Regions from separate parts of the Homo sapiens genome. Here all the other regions are linked to region 3. The links are contacts of gene promoters, found by promoter capture Hi-C in blood cells and fetal thymus (Javierre and others, 2016). All regions are on one chromosome and are shown on one strand. Each heading gives the region's core, a stretch centred on a gene start or on the middle of the fragment in contact. The rest is flanking DNA. Distances are from core to core; before and after follow the strand shown. Region 1 overlaps CASC18 (cancer susceptibility 18). Region 2 holds the start of LOC105369959 (a long non-coding RNA gene). Region 3 holds the start of NUAK1 (NUAK family kinase 1). Region 4 overlaps LOC107984435 (a long non-coding RNA gene). Region 5 has its middle 13 kb from the start of CASC18. Region 6 has its middle 66 kb from the start of CASC18.

Region 1 (2,700 bases), core at 31-2,530, 410 kb after region 3:
TGAGGGATTGGTTGCAGGACCTCCCTCGGATACCAAAATCTGCGGATGCTCAGGTCCCTTACATGAAATGGTCTAGTATTTGCACATAACCTACAGGCATCCTCTCGTATACTTTAAGTCCTGTCTACTTACAATACTTAATATAATATAAATGCTACATAAATAGTTGTTTTACGGTATTTTTAATTTGCATTATTTTTCATTGCTGTATTGTTATTTTCTATTGTTCTTTTTTTCCTGAATATTTTTTATCGCAGTTGGTTGAATCCAAGGATGCAGAAGCTGCCAATACCGAGGGGGCTGACTGTATATACATATAAAGGGACACTCCTTAACAATAAAAAAGGACACATACAATACAAAATAGTTACACTGGAGAAAATCCAAACCAAAAAAGAGTACATGCTATGATTTTATTTACATAAAAATCTAGAAAATGCAAAGTAATCTATAATGACAGAAAGAAAATCAGTAGCTTGCTAGAGATGAGAAACCAAGTGGGGCTGGAGAAAGAACTTGTACATGAACGATTACACATGAGCAAATTTTTTGGGTTGATAGATATGTTCATTATCTTGATTGTAGCAATGGCTTCACAGGTATATTTCTATGCCCAAACTTATCAAATTATATACTTTAAATATTTGCAGTTTATTATATGTCAATTATGCCTCAATAACTGTTCAAAAGACACACCGTAGTTTTGGGTTTTTTTTTTTTTGTTTTTTTGTTTTTTTTTTTTTTTGAGACGGAGTCTCACTCTGTCGCCAAGGCTGGAGTGTAGTGGCGCAATCTCGGCTCACTGCCAGCTCCACCTCCCGAGTTCACGCCATTCTCCCGTCTCAGCCTCCCAAGTAGCTGGGACTACAGGTGCCCGCCACCATGCCCGGCTAATTTTGTTTCTGTATTTTTAGCAGAGACGGGGTTTCACCGTGTTAGCCAGGATGGTCTTGATCTCCTGACCTTGTGATCCTCCCGCCTCAGCCTCCCAAAGTGCTGGGATTACAGGCGTGAGCCACTGCGCCCGGCCGACATATCGTAGTTTTTAAATGATGAGCTGTTAACATAAAATTTCAGGCTTGATAACAGGGTTTTGTCATATTAATGAGGGATTCATTTGCAATTGTTCTCCATTTGAGATAACTCCCACATTCAGCTGGTCTCTTTTTGATTACATTATTTCATTTACAACATTAGATTGTTCTAAATACATTTTTTAATCTACTGGTGTGGAGAGTTACCCATGCTATAATTTGGAGCGATTAAAAAGCAAGTTGCAGAGTAAAATGCATGGTATAATATCTTCTTTTGTTAAGAAAAAAATGAGCAAAGCAAGAACATATGTACCTGTATTTATACATGTTTAACATGTTTGAGCATAGAGGAAAGTGGTTGGGGATGGCAACAGGCACATAATAGTTTGGATATCTAGTTGTTAAACAAATCTTATCCAAAAGCTAGAAACTATACTTTTCAACTTGGGAGATGATGGTCAGTGAATTCCTAATAGATCCATTTGTTGCCTTCTGTTCCCAAAAGTATTTCTTCATGGCATGTTGGAGCATTTGGATGTGGTTTTAAAACACGGCCAATAATATAGCATCAGTGATTATTTTCAACAAGCAAAGAAAATTAGCAAGCATTGGAAATGAATCAAATTCCCAGTAATGGAAGTGTTTGTTCCACTTTGGTTTTCTTAAGTAATCCTAATATCTTATCTAATTCTTGACATTTATAGTCATAGCATTTTGAAACTGGAGTATGTATATTGAGACAGTCTGCTTGAGCAAACCACTTAAAATGAATTTTTTAGAAGGTATTATAATGTCATAGAAAAATGTGGGTTTTTTTCCCTCATCCTTCATTTGAAAAAAAAAAATTGTAAGAACACATTCTCCCTCAAAAGCTAGCATACTCTAGTGCCAGAAAGCAAAATGTTATTTATTACTCACTGCTTAGTTAATAACAAAGAGCTAGAAAAGACATATACTCATTAGATGGAATTGTTGGGACTTGTGATTTTCACCAATTCTTTCAACCCTGAATCAAGAGCAGGAGGCAGAGTCGGGGCCACCTTGTTGTATAACTTTGAGTGGTCATACAGACGTTGTATTTCCCTGGAGCACAAAGCCAATAGTGTTCCTTGGAGTTGTGTCTGCCAGTTCTCTTTGGATTAAGCAGTGTGTGACCTGGCATTCAGTGCAGCTCTTTTATTTGTGTAGATATGCTTCACTACTGAGTCTAGCCACCTCTTGCAGCCAGCGCATGAATCACAGAATAACTGTTAACTGCATGGAAATGCCCTCTCCTGTGACAGGGGCTTTAAGTAATTAAATGAAACAAGATGTTCTCTTGCACTTTCCCCTCATACGTGTCCTGCATAAAGGCTAGGAGCTGGTTCACACTCTGCATATCAATAGATTCATCTAACAATGAAGCCATAGCAACTTCTTTCCCTTGTGCACTACCAGTAATAAGTCCAAAAGTGTCACTGAATAAAGGAGTCTTGTCAAAGGCTCCGATTTCTCTCAGGGCATAGTATTTTTCATTAACTTGAGGGCATAGTATTTTTTATTATAATCATCTTAACCAGAGTATGGCTAAATATGAATTTGGATGATACTTCAAGAACTTTTGTCTCTTCACTGACTTAACTAATTCGCCAATTTTGTATCGAAAAGCATTATTCTGACCTTGTTT
Region 2 (2,928 bases), core at 179-2,678, 430 kb after region 3:
TGTATATCCAGCTTCAAGATTAGGATCCAGGCTGAATGTGGTGGCTGGCACCTGTAATCCCAGCATTTTGGGAGGCCGAGGCGGGCAGATCACCTGAGGTCAGGAGTTTGAGACCAGCCGGGCCAATACGGTGAAACCCCCTCTCTGCTAAAAATACAAAAATTAGCCAGCATGGTGGTGCATGCCTGTAGTCCCAGCGAATTGGGAGGCTGAGGTAGGAGAATCACTCGAACCTAGGTGGTGGAGGTTGCAGTGAGCCAAGATCACGTCACTGCACTCCTACCTGGGCAACAGAGTGAGATTCCATCTCCAAAAAAAAAAAAAAAAAAGACTAGGATCCTAAATAGTCAATAGACAAGGAGTTTCAAGGTTAAAATTCTTTCCACTCTCTTTCACCCATACATAAATAGTCTGTGTTCTTATTTGCCAATGCTAAACAGAGGCCTTCCTATGTGATTATTTATGTTGTCAAGTATATCACATAAAATATAAGACATAAATTACTCTATGTGTGGCTTCTTATCAGCTTTGAGTATACACATTTTCAGCCTCAATGTGAAATCAGAGTTTGCTTCTAAATGGTATCTGGACATACAGAATTTGTAAAGAAATCTATCCTCTTTGTTTAAGAGAAGATATCAATGTAATTTTGCCTCGTGCAGATTCCGTCCTTATTTTTTTTTTTTACTTTAACTACTTTAAAAACCTTTTTTTTTTCCCAGTACAAAAGGTGAATCCATTTCACGAGGAGGAGCTCAGTCAAATTTTATATGAGGGGAGACCAAGTTTGATCTTGCCGAGAGATCCTCGTTCTGTAAACCCCGTAAGTAGGAGTGTGAAGGGAGAAAGCCAGAAACGGGTTTTAATATGGATGTGCAAAAAAGTTCAAGGAAAGACGAAGAGGAAAAGAAAGCAAGCCTTCCATGTTTATCTGCTCCATCTATTTCCTGCCTGTAATTTATGCCATAGGTTAATTCCCGGGAAGTAGGAAAAAGACTCACCTTGTACTACAGTTAAATCTTGTGGAGAATAAGTAAAATTCCAAACATATCCCAAAGTAATGTAAGAGCAGAGGCCTCTTATTTTGCAGAGGAAAGAGGCCTCCTAAAAATGCTGCACACAGATGTTTAAGCATCAGAGAGACATGGACTAGTAGATCCTTGGAGCGAAAAGGTGCAGAGAGAGAAATCGCCCAGTCCAGAGGAAGAACATGAACCCCGGAGTGGAGAGGAGTCCCTCCCAAATTTACAGGGCAAGTCAGCGGCAGAGCTGGTCTAGAAACTGCACCCCTGACTTCTAGCCCCTGCCTGATTCTGTGCGCCCATGTAAGCTCTAAAGGACGCCATTCACTATGTGGTCCCAGTCAAATCTTCTATGTGCTATGTACGATGGTTGACCCAAAAAGAATTGTCTCATCATTGCCCTTCCCCTCCCCTCTGCAAAACAAAACAAAACAAAAAAAAACCTTGTGGCTTTGTCCTTACTAGGCAACAATTTCATCACACTTTGTCATTTAGTAAGTATAAAACAGCCAGCCAACTTCTAAGGACAGAAATACACATCCCCGGTCTAATTCTTGCCTCTAGCCTTTCAAAGCTCAAGGCCTGGCTTTGGGGCAAGAGGGTCCACGTGTATATGTGTGTGTGCACGTGTGTGCATGTGTGTGGGTGTGTGTGGCAGGGGATAGAAAGCCCATCACATGTACCTGGAACACAGCTTTGATCCACATCTTTCTCAGCCCAGTAAAAAACTTGTAGCCACTAAAGCATCTGAGCACTGAAGCATCTTAACCACTAAAGCATGTGGGGCATTGTCATCTGACCCCACTGCCATAGGCCCCTTTTTACAGATGGCTGAATACTTTCTCAATGAGGCCATTGCACTTGCCCTGAGGGGGAGGACCTCTCATCACTCACCTGCTGCCATTCTTTTCCAGGGCCCAGAACAATCCCAGGGGCCTTAACTACAGACTCTAATTGGGCGCATCAGCATCACGAGTAGGACTCAAGTAAGAAAGGGGCATATTTATGTTTCTTATCGTGCGTCTACAGGGAGGGGCTGAAAAGGACTCAAAAGCCTATGAAAACTTGTATTGCAGATGGGGAGGAGGGATGAGGGTAGAAACAAAAAATAATATACAGCACTTTATCCAACCATTTTATAACAAGTTGAAATCAGGCTCCTTCCAGATTGAAATGGATCCTCCAGTCCCATAATTAAATTGGGAAAATGAAGCCATTTCATGCCTTTGGCTCCCTTTGATCATTGTTATTTCTGTGACTAATGTGTAACTGGAGCTGCTTTTTCTGGGGCATGAGCCTCGCCTGGGCAGCTGCTAGGAGAGTGTGGCCTGGTCTCCTGTTGTCAGCGCAAGCTGACGGCAAGGCCAGGGCTCAGCAAGGTCAGGTTAGTCTCAGCCAAAGTGGACTGGAAGAGATGCACCTGCGCTGACAAGCAGCTATCTGTTCCCATTTGCCTCTGACTGCATTTCTCCAGGGCCTCCCTTGTCCTGGAGAACTCTTGGGTGGGAACTGGTGTTTTTTCCCTTGAAAGGAAGAGATAGAGGACATTTCAAGAGATAGGAGCAGAACATTGCCTCTCAAATTGTAAAGAAGGTGACTTCTGAAGCTCATCATTTTAATTTTCCCTCCCCTTTGTCCCTCATCAACTTCTATTCCTGCATCCTCCCTAACCCCTCCATGCGTGCATCACACACACACATACACACACACATACACTCACACTCACACGCTGGGCACAGCAGGCATGCAAGCACAGTTGGGAATTCTGTGAGTCCTTCTAGACTAAGGAAACTCAAACTAAAAAGTAAAATCTATTAATAACAACTCCCTCCTCCCCATTTACTACGGAATTTGCTCTTGCGGATTCTCTAGAGCGCCCTCATGTGACGCCCTGTTGTAATAGCAT
Region 3 (2,740 bases), core at 148-2,647:
AAGGGCTGCACCTGAGAGCTGCAGAGGAGGCCCCAGTGAGGTCCACTGGTGGAAAAGAACCGCCATGCGATCTGCAGAACACCAGACCTTCTTCAGCCTTCACTCTTCCCACCCTAGTCTGGTACATTGCACCACTTGTTAAAAAAAAAAATTTCCCTAAGACCTCTTTTTCTCTAGCCTTCTTCCTTATTTTTCATGGTCTCTTCTTAGAACGGCGGCAGCCACGCCGCGGTGGGAGGCCCTTCCTGCCTGACCCTTACCGTGCGGGGTACCGTTCCTGTCACCATCGCCAGGATCTGGCCCTTTCAGTGAAAGGAAATCTCCCAAGGCCTAAGGAGGCAAGAGGCCTGCAAATCGCCTCCTGCTCAGCAAACGGGTTGCTCAGCAGGCCCGGGGTCCTGGTCCACCCCAGGTCCCTGGTTTGCCCACCTCCGATGGCGGCCTTCGCTGGCAGGGTGGGCGCCTCTGGGGAGCCAGCTCCGTCCCGGCGCCTTTAGAGCCCCATCTCTTCCACGTCCCTGGCCTTCCTCCCCTTCCAGGCGGCTGTCCCCGCCGGGGTCCAGATGGTGTCGGAGGGCCGGCGGTTCGACGGCGGGCCCGGGGTTCAGCCTCCCGGCCTCCCTCCGTCCCTGACTCTCCTTTCTTCGGAGAGGGCGCGGGGGCCGGGGCCAAAGCGCCGCTCTTGGGGTTCTCCTGGACTCGGAGTTGCCCCAGGCGGGCGCAGCTCTGCCCCGCGGGGTGCCAGCCTCGGGCGGGCAAGGTCCGTGAGTCACCGCCTGTAACCGAACACCAGGCCTCCCTGCCCCCTCCCCCAGCTCCGGCCGCCAGGCTGCGGCGACACCTACAAGAAAATGAAGGGGCGCCCAGGCCCGCGGCGGCCCCGGCCGTATCGCGAGCAGGTCCCGGCGGCCCCCGGCTCGCGGCGCTCTTTCTTCCCCGGCCCCGGGGCTCGGCCAGCCGCAACCGCCGCCCCGGCGCCAGCAGGAATCCAGGCCGAGCGACCGGCCCCGGAGCCCGAGGCGGCGGAGGGCCCGCGGTAGCTGCGACTGGCGAGCCCGAGAGCGCCCGGGGAGGGGGCGCCCGGCTTGGAATTTCCCGGTCCCTTCCGGCCCAGCGAGGACAAAGCACTCCTGGCCGCCGCCGCCGCCGCCGCCGTGGCCTACGCCGCGCCGCACAAAGGGCGAGTCGCGACACGCTCCCATCCCCCTCCCAGCTCACGGCGGCCCCGGCCCCGGGTGGCTGCAGGGAGGTGGGGGAAGCCCTGGCTGCACCGCCCCTCGCTCCCCCTCCCCTGGGGCCGCGCGAGCGCCGCCCCCGCCCCGTCTGCGCGTCCTCCCGGGGAGGGGTTGGGGGGCGCGGCGCCCCACATAACACTCCCCCTCCTGCGCTGCGAGCCACCCTCTCCCCTCCCTCCTGCAAACACCACCGCCTCCCCTGCCACCGCCGCCACCTCGCCCGACGCTCCACAGCTCGCCGCGGCCGGGGGGCGGTGCGCGGACCGTGCGCGCCGCGGGCGCCAGATGTGCAGTCCCCGCCGCCGCCAGTGACCGAGCCGCAGTCCGAGCGGTATCGGGCCGCCTCCCTGATGCTGCGGGGGCGACCTTGAGCGTACAGCGGCTTCCCTCGGTGGGGACCCCGACATCCCAGCGCTGTGCCCGGTCTTGCCCTCTGTAGCCCGGCTCGCCCCGCGCTTGGACATGGAAGGGGCCGCCGCGCCTGTGGCGGGGGACCGCCCCGACTTGGGGCTGGGGGCGCCGGGCTCTCCCCGAGAGGCGGTGGCGGGGGCGACTGCAGCCCTGGAGCCCAGGAAGCCGCACGGGGTGAAGCGGCATCACCACAAGCACAACTTGAAGCACCGCTACGAGCTGCAGGAGACCCTGGGCAAAGGCACCTACGGCAAAGTCAAGCGGGCCACCGAGAGGTTTTCTGGCCGAGTGGTGAGTGGGGCAATCCTGGAGGGTGCGGGGGGCGCTGGGTGGACGCGGCCGGGGACTGAGGGCGTGCGAGGCGGGGGTCTGTGCGCCCTGGGGCTCTCTTGACAGAGAGGGGGCTCATTGGGAAGCCCCGAGACAGACTCCTCACTCTTTCTCCAGCACCCCGTGACTCAGGCGTGTCTCTGTCCTGAAACACTTGTTACATCCTGTCTGCACATATTTTATTTTATTTTTTGGTTTGTTTTTAAAAATTTAATCCTAGCAGCAAAGGAATGTTTTAGATTTGCAAACACTTTGCAGCGTTGGGACGGCCGGGGTCTCTCTCCCTCGCAGGCACTCATTTAGACCATGCCCCGAAACGTCTTATTTCCACAACTCTCCAAAGAACCACATTCCCAGCTAGGAGCTAGCCCCTCAAGTCCGGTGTTTTGTAGGTGTCCCTACCCCCTTCCACCCATCTGCCCGCAGCTCCTTGCTCTGCATCCTCCCACTCAGACTCTGCATCGCCCTGATACTGCTGTGACTGCAAGGGAGGGCGACTCTTGCCTGTTTTTGAGACAAGGTTAGGGAGCAAAAATAAAGACTACTGCAAGCCTGAGGATTCTAACAGTTTGCATCATGGCTTTGGGAGGACCGAAATGTCCAGGGCATGGGTAGCTACAGAGATAGCTGTGCTTAGTTGCAGCAGGCTCAGTTGTGTTTCAGCTCCTGGTTGCAGGGCTACCAAACCGCTGAAGGGGTCTGGCCCCGCTGCTCTTGTGACAGCTGACACCCTGCCAGGGTCCTGGCACCATTTGCACAGCTCC
Region 4 (2,837 bases), core at 62-2,561, 390 kb after region 3:
AACCCTCTGGTGAGTTCCAATAGTCCTACAGGGTTTCCAAGCTCTCTATGACCATGTGCCTCATCAAGTCTCTAACAGTATTCCCTGCCATGCTGTAAGTGACTCCACTTCCCTCACTGGTCCCTTTCTTGTTACTTTTTTTTTTTTTCTGAGACAGAGTTTTGCTCTTGTTGCCCAGGCTGGAGTGCAATGGCACAATCTTGGCTCACTGCAACCTCTGCCTCCGGCGTTCAAGCGATTCTCCTGCCTCAGCCTTCATGAGTAGCTGGGATTACAGGCATGCACCACCATGCCCGGCTAATTTTGTATTTTTAGTTGAGACAGGGTTTCTCCATGTTGGTCAGGCTGGTCTTGAACTCCTGACTTCAGGTGATCCACCTGCCTCGGCCTCCCAAAGCGCTGGGATTACAGGCATGAGCCACCACGCCTGGCCCCTTTCTTGTTACTTACATATGCCATGCTCACACCCATGATGGCCTTCGCATAGGCTGTTCCTTCTACCTGGAGAATTCCACCCTACCCACCTGCATGACTCTGCCCCTCACCGCCTTCAGGCCTGGCTTTGTCACACCACCATAAGTCCTTCCCTGGCCAGCTAGTTAGCATAGCACCCTGTCTCCCTGTGTCCTTATCCAGTTTGTTATTCTTCTCAGCACTGACAATTACCTGAAATAGATTATGTGTTACTGTTGGTCTCCTTTATCTATCTATCTATCTATCTATCTATCTATCTATCTATCTATCATTCTGTCTATTTTTGAGACAGAATCTTACTATGTTACCCAGGCTGGAGGGCAGTGGCATGATCACGACTCACTGCAGCCTTGACCTCCTGGACTCAGGTGATCCTTCCATCTGAGCCTTCCAAGTAGCTGGGACCATGGGCATGCACCACTATACCTGGCTAATTTTTCTATTTTTGTACCAGCCAGACCAGGCTGGTCTCAGATTCCTGGCCTTAAGTGATCCATCTGCCTCAGCCTCCCCAAGTGCTGGGATTCCAGGTGTGAGCCACCACCCTGGCTGGTCTCCCTGATTAGAAAGTAAGTAAGCTTAGCAAAAGCAGGTGCTTTTTCTGTTTTTATTCACTGCTCAATCCCTGTTGCTAAGAACAATCCTTGGCACATATTGGGGGCTTAATGAATAATGAATGAATAAACCCTGTAAAGAGGCCCATAAAACACTCCCAGGAAATTCAAACCCCTAAATCCCATTCTTCCATTTTACAGATGAAAACCTGAGGCCCCAAAAGAGAAGTGACTTGGTCAAAGTCACCCAGCAGTTAATGGCAGAGCAAGGCCAGATTCTGAGCCACTCATTTCCCAATCCTGTCCTCTCTCCCTGTGTGTCCCAATGATAGCAGAGGGAATAGATGTCAGCTTCTGCCTATCAGGTGACATTGCAGAGGTTATGGTTCAAAAGGTTATCCCAATAAACTGAAGGCAGAAAGGTCACCAGGTGGCTGAGGCCATGACACTCCCAGAGGAGACGTGATGAGGACCCATCACCTGGTGACTCGGGAAGTCAAAAGGAAGGTCAAAGTCTGGATGACTTTGTGAAAGAAGCTTGTTGGATAATTGAATGTGGTGATAAAAGGCACAGAAAGAAAAAAAATCAAAGTGATAATAAGGAAGGAGGGCCCATTTTTATTTATCTTTGTATCTTCCATGCTAGTACTTAACAGGGGGTACATTTACCCCCAAATGTCTATTGCCAGACCTGGTAATGAGGACCAGAAGGGTCACAATTCATGGTTTTCTAATGAGTCAGGCTTTCTAAGTGCCATGGATAAGAACACAAACTTAGGGTAAGTTACACCTAGGTCAAACCTCATTTCTTTTACCCTCTTTTTGCACAAGTGATCTTGGGCAAAAAAATTATCCTTTCTAAATCTCAATTTTCCCATCTCTAAACCTGGATAATATATGCAAAAGAGAAAGACAGAAGGAGAGAGAGAAAGAGAGAGAGAGCGAGTCAGAGAGAGAAAGAGAGAAAGGGAGAGAGACTAACTACAATCATGTGTATGATGTGCTTACTTAGCGCAAGGCTCAGCACATGTGAGGCCCTCAATAAATGCTCACTTTTCTTTACTACCTCAATGGCTTCTGTCTTCTCTTGAAATCCATGCCCTCTCATTTCTAGTTCTGCAATGTTGAGATCCTGGCTCCTCCCTGCTCCTTCTCAAAGGGGATCTATTGAGAAGAGGAGGGCTGCTATGATTAAATCTCCTTCCCACCTCTGAATTTGAGATGAATTTGGTGCTTTCCATCTGCTCAGCTGGCAGACTTTTCACGAGGGCCTGGGCATCATAATAAATGCATGAATCACATCACCTCTGCTGTATAGTCATGAGAGTAACGTGGGAGCCAGATGTGAATGACCCCAGGGTGGACCTGCTATTAGTGTTTCCAAGTGGTGACGACTTGCTCCCATTCCCATACATATCTCCAACTCTGTGTTGATATCTCACCTTTGATAGTGGCTTTGATTCCGGAGAACTGTTTGAGCCTCATCTCTGGACTCAGAGCAGATGGGAGGGCCTTGGTGTTTCATTTTGAGAACAAGAGAAAAGCTGCATTTCTATCCTGTGCTTGCTCACAGGAGCAGCCCACATTTCACCCTTCGCAGAATCCTGTGTTGTTCCCATCTGAGGCCTGCCAGCTTCGGAGGTTAAGTCTCTGAGACGAAAGGAAAGCGGGGGCTGGAAGAATTTTGGAGGGAGTCCAGGACTGCCTGGCCAAGCCAACCCAAATAACTCAAGCAAGCAAAAATCTGCTTGGGCCTGAACTGGCTGTCTAGACAGTTGTGATTATATGCAGGTAGCTATATGACCTTGC
Region 5 (2,870 bases), core at 333-2,832, 450 kb after region 3:
ACTTCAAACTATACTATAAAGCTATGGTAATCAAAACAGCATGGTACTAGCATAAAAATAGACACATAGATCAATGGAACAGAATAGAGAACCCAGAAATAAAGCCACATATCTACAACCAACCAATCTTTGAAAAAGTTGACAAAAATATAAAATCGGAAAAAACACCTTATTCAATAAATGGTGCTGGGAAAATTGAAGAACCATATGCTAAAGAATGAAACTGGGCCCCTATCTGTCACCATATGCCAAAAATAAGTCAAGATAGATTAAAGAATTAAACATAAGGCCTGAAACTATAAAAACCCTAGAAGAAAACCCAGGAAAAATTCTTCTGGACACTGAAGAATGTCCAGAATTTATTACTAAGAATTTATTACTAAGTCCTCAAAAGGAATGCAAGACGATCAAAATGAGACAAATGGGACTTAATTAAACTAAAAAGCTTTTGCAAAGCAAAAGAAATAATCAACAGAGTAAACAGACAACCTACAGAATGTGAGAAAATATGTGCAGTTTTGCAAGGGATAATATCCAGAATCCACGAGGAACTCAAACAACTCAACAAGAAAAACAACAACAACAACAAATAACCCCATTAAAAAGTGGGCGAAGAACATGAACAGAGACTTTTCAAAAGAAGACATACAAGTGGCCAGCAAACAAATGAAAAATGCTCAACATCACTAATCATCAAAGAAATGCAAATCAAAATTACAATGAGAAACCATCTCACACCAGTCAGGATGGCTATTAGTAAAAAGTCCAAAAGCAACAGATGTTGGCAAGGGGAAAAAGGAAGCTTATGCATTGGTGGTGGAAGTGTAAATTAGTACAACATCTATAAAAAACAATATGGAAATTTGTCTAAGAACTAAAAATAGAACTACTCTTCAATCCATCAATCCTGCTACTGGGTATCTACCCAAAGGAAAAGAAATCGTTTTATCAGAAAAGACACCTGCACTCATACATTTATGACAGCACTAGTCACAATGGCAAAATCCTGGAATCAACCTAAGTGTTTATCAATGGATGATTGGATAAAAAACTGTGAGACATACATATATGTGTGTGTGTGTATGATATATATATATATAATATATCTTATATCATACACACACACACACACACACACACACACACACACACACACACCATGGAATACTACTCAGCCATAAAAATGAATGAAATTGGCTGGGTGGTGGCTCATGCCTGTAATCCCAGCACTTTGGGAGGCTGAGACGGGTGGATCATGAGGTCAAGAGATTGAGACCATCCTGGCCAACATGGTGAAACCCCATCTCTACTGAAAGTACAAAAATTAGCTGGGCATGGTGGCGGGCGCCTGTAGTCCCAGCTACTCAGGAGGCTGAGGCAGGAGAATCACTTGAACCCGGGAGGCAGAGGTTGCAGTGAGCCGAGATTACACCACTGCACTCCAGCCTGGTGACAGAGAGAGACTCCATCTCAAAAAATAAATAAATAAATAAATGAAATCATGTCTTTCGCAGCAACATGGATGAAACTGGAGGCCATTATCCTTAGTGACATGACTCAGAAACAGAAAGTCAAAAATTGCATGCTCTCATTTACAAATGCAAGCTAAATAATGAGTAAACACAGACATACAGAGTGAAACAATACACACTGAAGACTGCAAAAGATGGGAAAGTGGAAGGGGGATGAGGAATGAAATACTACCTATTGGGTACAGTGTACACTATTTGGGTTACACTAAAAGCCCAGACTTCACCACTAGACAATATATCCATGTAACACAACTGCACTTGTATCCCAGAATCCATAAAAGTATTTTTTTTTTTTAGCAAAAAGAGTTTGTGAGTTCTGGCAGGTAAAGCTCCCATGAGAATAAGAATTTTCATCAGGATATGAATCTTGCCAGGGCTGTTAAGATGCTAATAATGTTCATTTCTATCACAGGCAATTGATTTGAAACCCATACTTTTTACTGGAGTGTGCATTTGTATTGTTTAGATTGGGTTTAATTATAAGAAAGAGAAAACCCAACCTAGTAGTTTGAACATGCAGGGTTTATTTCCTCATGCAAACATTCCAGATCAACCATACAAGTCTAGTGTTATAATTTCATGAACCTATCAGGAACCTAGGCTTTTTCCACTCACTCTGAGATTCTTACAGTATGGCTCTCATCTTCCTTATTCTAGATGACTGCTGTAGCACCGGTGGTTTTGTCCAAATTCCATTCAAAATGAAAAAAGAAAAAGGAAGGAGAAGGTAATATTCTTTCATTTTGAGGAATACTTGTGAGATGTTGCACACATCTCTTCTGCTTAAGTCCCATTGGTCATGCTTAGTTAGAAGAGAGATTGGAAGCTTTAATGTTACTCTGGGTAAACTGACTCAAATATAAGACGTATGTTATTTAGAGACACAGAAAGAATAGATATTGGGTGACAATGAGCAGTGTCTACACAATTTTCTTGTTGGAATAGAGATTCCTCTCGGATTCTACAATAACAACCATATCTGACCTTACTCTAGTGTTTTAACATTTATATTTCATTATGTTATTAGATCCCTACAATAACTCTGGGAAGTATAGGAGGTATTGTGATATCCATAGGGGAATGAGCAAATTCAGTCTCAACATGTTCAAGTAGCAAGTAAGTGATAAATTCAGGGTTCAACTGGAGTCTTCTGGCACTTGCTTTATTATCCAACAGCTCCTTGTAGGCAGTAGGTATCAAAAGCACGTCCCAGATATGCAAAAAGGAGACTAAGACTCAGAGTCCTGGCATGATCTGGGCACAGAAGAAGTCCTCAGTAATAGTTAGATCCAAGGCCACTTTGTCGTTGGATGAGACAAAGAAGGAAAGGCATTTCCA
Region 6 (2,739 bases), core at 141-2,640, 370 kb after region 3:
GTCTTTGCCATGGAAGGGCAATTAGCCCACTGTGCCTACAAGTGTCTAGTTGCTGTAAGTCTCACAAAGCTTTAATGCCCAGAAATCATTGCTGGTATAAGAATTTTGTCCACCATAGAGAATTTTAGCTTAGTGGTGAAGCGACCACTCATGAAATTAGTCACGTGCAGACTGTATTTCTACCCATCCTCCCCAAGCCTGGCTGACACAGACTTCTTTTTCTCTATATTTTTCTTTTTTAATTTTTTTTAATTCTTTTTTTTTTTTTAAATAGAGATGAAGTCTCTCTATGTTGCCCAGGCTGGTCTCGAACTCCTAGGCTCAAGTGATCTTCCTGCCTCAGCCTCCCAAAGTGTTGGGATTACAAGCATAAATTATCACGCCTGGATGCAGTCTTCCTTATAAGTGGCATTTTTATATTTCCCTTACATTGGAACATTCCCACACAAACTCAAGATGATCCCAAGGTGGGCATGTTGCCAAAGTCCTTTTCCTCCTTCTCCCCAAACTGCTTCTTTCTCCTGGCTTTCCAGTTTGGGTAAACGGCACCAACCTTCTCCCAGGCACCAGACTTCCAACATGGGTGGTCATGTTAAACATTTTTCACTTTGTCTGCAAGCCATGAATATTCCATCTGAAACCCATCTCCTCTTTTACTGTGATCATACCAATTCAGAACCACTTACCTTTCACCTGTGTTATTTCAGGAGCCTTTGTCTGCTCACGGAAGTGAGCTTACTTGCTCTTGGGAAGCTTTTGGTAGCAAGAGGCAGTTCTGATCCTTAAGTCCATGTTTCCCACCTGCTATGGACTCAGCTGTGTCCCTCTCCCCACCCCAAATTCATGATTCTTATGTTGAAGCCCTAACCCCAAATGTGATATTTGGAGATGGGACTTCTGGGAGGTAATTAAGCTTAGATGAGGTCACAAGGGTGGAATCCTTATGATGGGATTAGTGCCTTTGCAAGAAGAGGCACCAGAGAGCTTATTTTTTCTCTGTCTCCATGCACACACGAAGAAGGGGTCATGTGAGTACACAGCATGATGGCAGCCATCTACAAACCAAGAAGGGAGCCCTCACCAGAACCTTATCATGCTGGCTTCCAGATCATGGACTTTCAGTACCCTGATCACGGACTTCCAGCCTCCAGAACTATGAAAAAACAAGTGTTGTTTAAGTTGCCCAGTGTGTGGTATTTTGCTGCAGCAGCCTGAGCTAAGACACCACCCAAAATTTGCTACAATTAATACACAGATCCAGGAATGAGAGCAGTTATCATAGATGCTAACTATTTGGAAGAACTTCTTTGACCAAAGTCCTCAGCCTCTGAAAAGGACCACTTTCCTTATGAAAATTCATGCTGTCTATACGTTTTTGGGATAAGTCAGTTTCATTACTTATGTGATAATCACACCTCATGTCATCTTGTTTTCAAAAATAACTGTTTAAATTGCTATTTAAATGTGAGATGTATGGTCATGCAGGGGGGTTCTCAGTTTTTCCTTCACCGTTCTGGCTAAAAAAACAAATAAAACAAAACAAAATACAAGTAGCTGAAACATTTCCCTTTTAAAATTTTCCTGAAAACAACTATCTGGGTTAGTAAGATAGACAATCATCTGCTTATCATTTCAGTGCTCATCACCTTTTTTCCTAAATTCGTTTATATTAGCAAAGCCCAGTGATTAGCAAAGCCCCTGACTCTTGGATGTTCTTAAGGTTTTTCATCTTTTGGGTCATGCTTGCATGTCTTTCATGTAAAATCAGACTTGAGGCCTCAGCCTTTGAAAATAGCAGAGTCTGACAGGATTGTTGGAGGTTTCAGGAGAAACAAAAAGCAGCTTAAGGAGGGGTTTTGAAAGCTTTTATATATGTTAATTATAGTCACTGAGGGTCAAAAGACAGGGAAGAACCAAACCAGAAGGAGAAAAATATTGTAGGTATGAGTCTAGTAGTCAGGGTGATGTTAAGTTATGCTGCAGTAACACACTCCCAGACTGCAGTGACTTTCACATGAACATTTATTTTGGTCACATAAAGTTCTTTGCCAAGTCTCATGACTCTCCAGGGAAACTCCTTCCCAGGTGGTGGTTCAGGGAGCCAATATGCTTTTATCGTGTGATTCCAGTAGCTTAACACATGGCTCCTAAGGTCACTGAGTTTAGGAAAGATAGAGCCAGAGAATTATAAAGGAGCTTCTCAATACCTCAGCCTGAAAATGATACACTGTTACTTTTGTTTATAGTCCACTGGCCAGAAAAAGTCATATGGCTTTGCCTGACTTGCAAGGCAGTGATGAAGTGGGTGAGCTCATGCATATTCAATGAGCAGTCAGTGGCTTGGCCTCAAGGGCAAGGCTCAGGTCAATTAATTTACTTTTAATTCAATTACAAGGCAATCTCCTAAAACGTATGAAATTTTCATCTTTATATTTCTTATTTTCTACTCTAGAAACTGTAGCAGAAGAAGGAGAGGTAGAAAAGGGAGAATACTCATTTACTCTTTGATTTGGCTTTAATTTCCTTGGCAGACAAATTAATTTTACATTTTATAGAAGTTAATACTTTTTAAAAGAGCACCACAGAATAGTCTACATTCTAACCCTGATTATTTCAGTAGCTAATCTATGACCTCGGCTGTCTAACTTTGTGTCTCTGGTTTTTAGCGTGCACATCAGAACACTGGGCACGGTAATTCGCCTTCTTCACTAAGTTATTGCAAAATTCCAATTCAATGTC

The links. Contacts are between HindIII fragments. The CHiCAGO score rates a contact against its expected background, and 5 or more counts as called.
Region 1: a contact is called between a fragment that was not itself captured here and the fragment with the promoter of NUAK1 in region 3, in 2 of 17 cell types (M2 macrophages and endothelial precursors). The highest score is 6.7, in M2 macrophages.
Region 2: a fragment that was not itself captured here is called in contact with the fragment with the promoter of NUAK1 in region 3 in 8 of 17 cell types (M2 macrophages, M0 macrophages, M1 macrophages and 5 more); the score reaches 39.4 in M2 macrophages.
Region 4: a fragment that was not itself captured here is called in contact with the fragment with the promoter of NUAK1 in region 3 in 1 of 17 cell types (endothelial precursors); the score reaches 7.0 in endothelial precursors.
Region 5: a fragment that was not itself captured here is called in contact with the fragment with the promoter of NUAK1 in region 3 in 4 of 17 cell types (M1 macrophages, M2 macrophages, M0 macrophages and 1 more); the score reaches 10.1 in M1 macrophages.
Region 6: a contact is called between a fragment that was not itself captured here and the fragment with the promoter of NUAK1 in region 3, in 3 of 17 cell types (M0 macrophages, endothelial precursors and M2 macrophages). The highest score is 7.9, in M0 macrophages.

The regions. Positions count from the first base shown.
Region 1 is chr12:105,724,372-105,727,071 of GRCh38, reverse strand. All of the region lies in intron 3 of CASC18 (cancer susceptibility 18), which reads right to left. Among named protein-coding and RNA genes, the nearest start is that of CASC18, 22 kb to the right of the region's middle. The HindIII fragment of the contact is 4,140 bases long and covers 1-2,700 here.
Region 2 is chr12:105,705,845-105,708,772 of GRCh38, reverse strand. The region is part of intron 1 of CASC18 (cancer susceptibility 18); the gene reads right to left. LOC105369959 (a long non-coding RNA gene) reads left to right here and starts at 746. Exons shown (of 3, transcript XR_945309.3): 1 at 746-823; 2 at 1,937-2,008. The HindIII fragment of the contact is 4,284 bases long and covers 1-2,928 here.
Region 3 is chr12:106,137,611-106,140,350 of GRCh38, reverse strand. It overlaps NUAK1 (NUAK family kinase 1), which reads left to right and starts at 1,397. Exons shown (of 7, transcript NM_014840.3): 1 at 1,397-1,937. The coding sequence starts at 1,698. RefSeq lists enhancers at 1-75, 2,467-2,740. The HindIII fragment of the contact is 5,150 bases long and covers 1-2,740 here.
Region 4 is chr12:105,748,858-105,751,694 of GRCh38, reverse strand. All of the region lies in intron 2 of LOC107984435 (a long non-coding RNA gene), which reads left to right. Among named protein-coding and RNA genes, the nearest start is that of CASC18, 46 kb to the right of the region's middle. The HindIII fragment of the contact is 513 bases long and covers 1,055-1,567 here.
Region 5 is chr12:105,689,486-105,692,355 of GRCh38, reverse strand. No RefSeq gene overlaps it. Among named protein-coding and RNA genes, the nearest start is that of CASC18, 13 kb to the left of the region's middle. The HindIII fragment of the contact is 1,556 bases long and covers 805-2,360 here.
Region 6 is chr12:105,769,207-105,771,945 of GRCh38, reverse strand. No RefSeq gene overlaps it. Among named protein-coding and RNA genes, the nearest start is that of CASC18, 66 kb to the right of the region's middle. The HindIII fragment of the contact is 950 bases long and covers 916-1,865 here.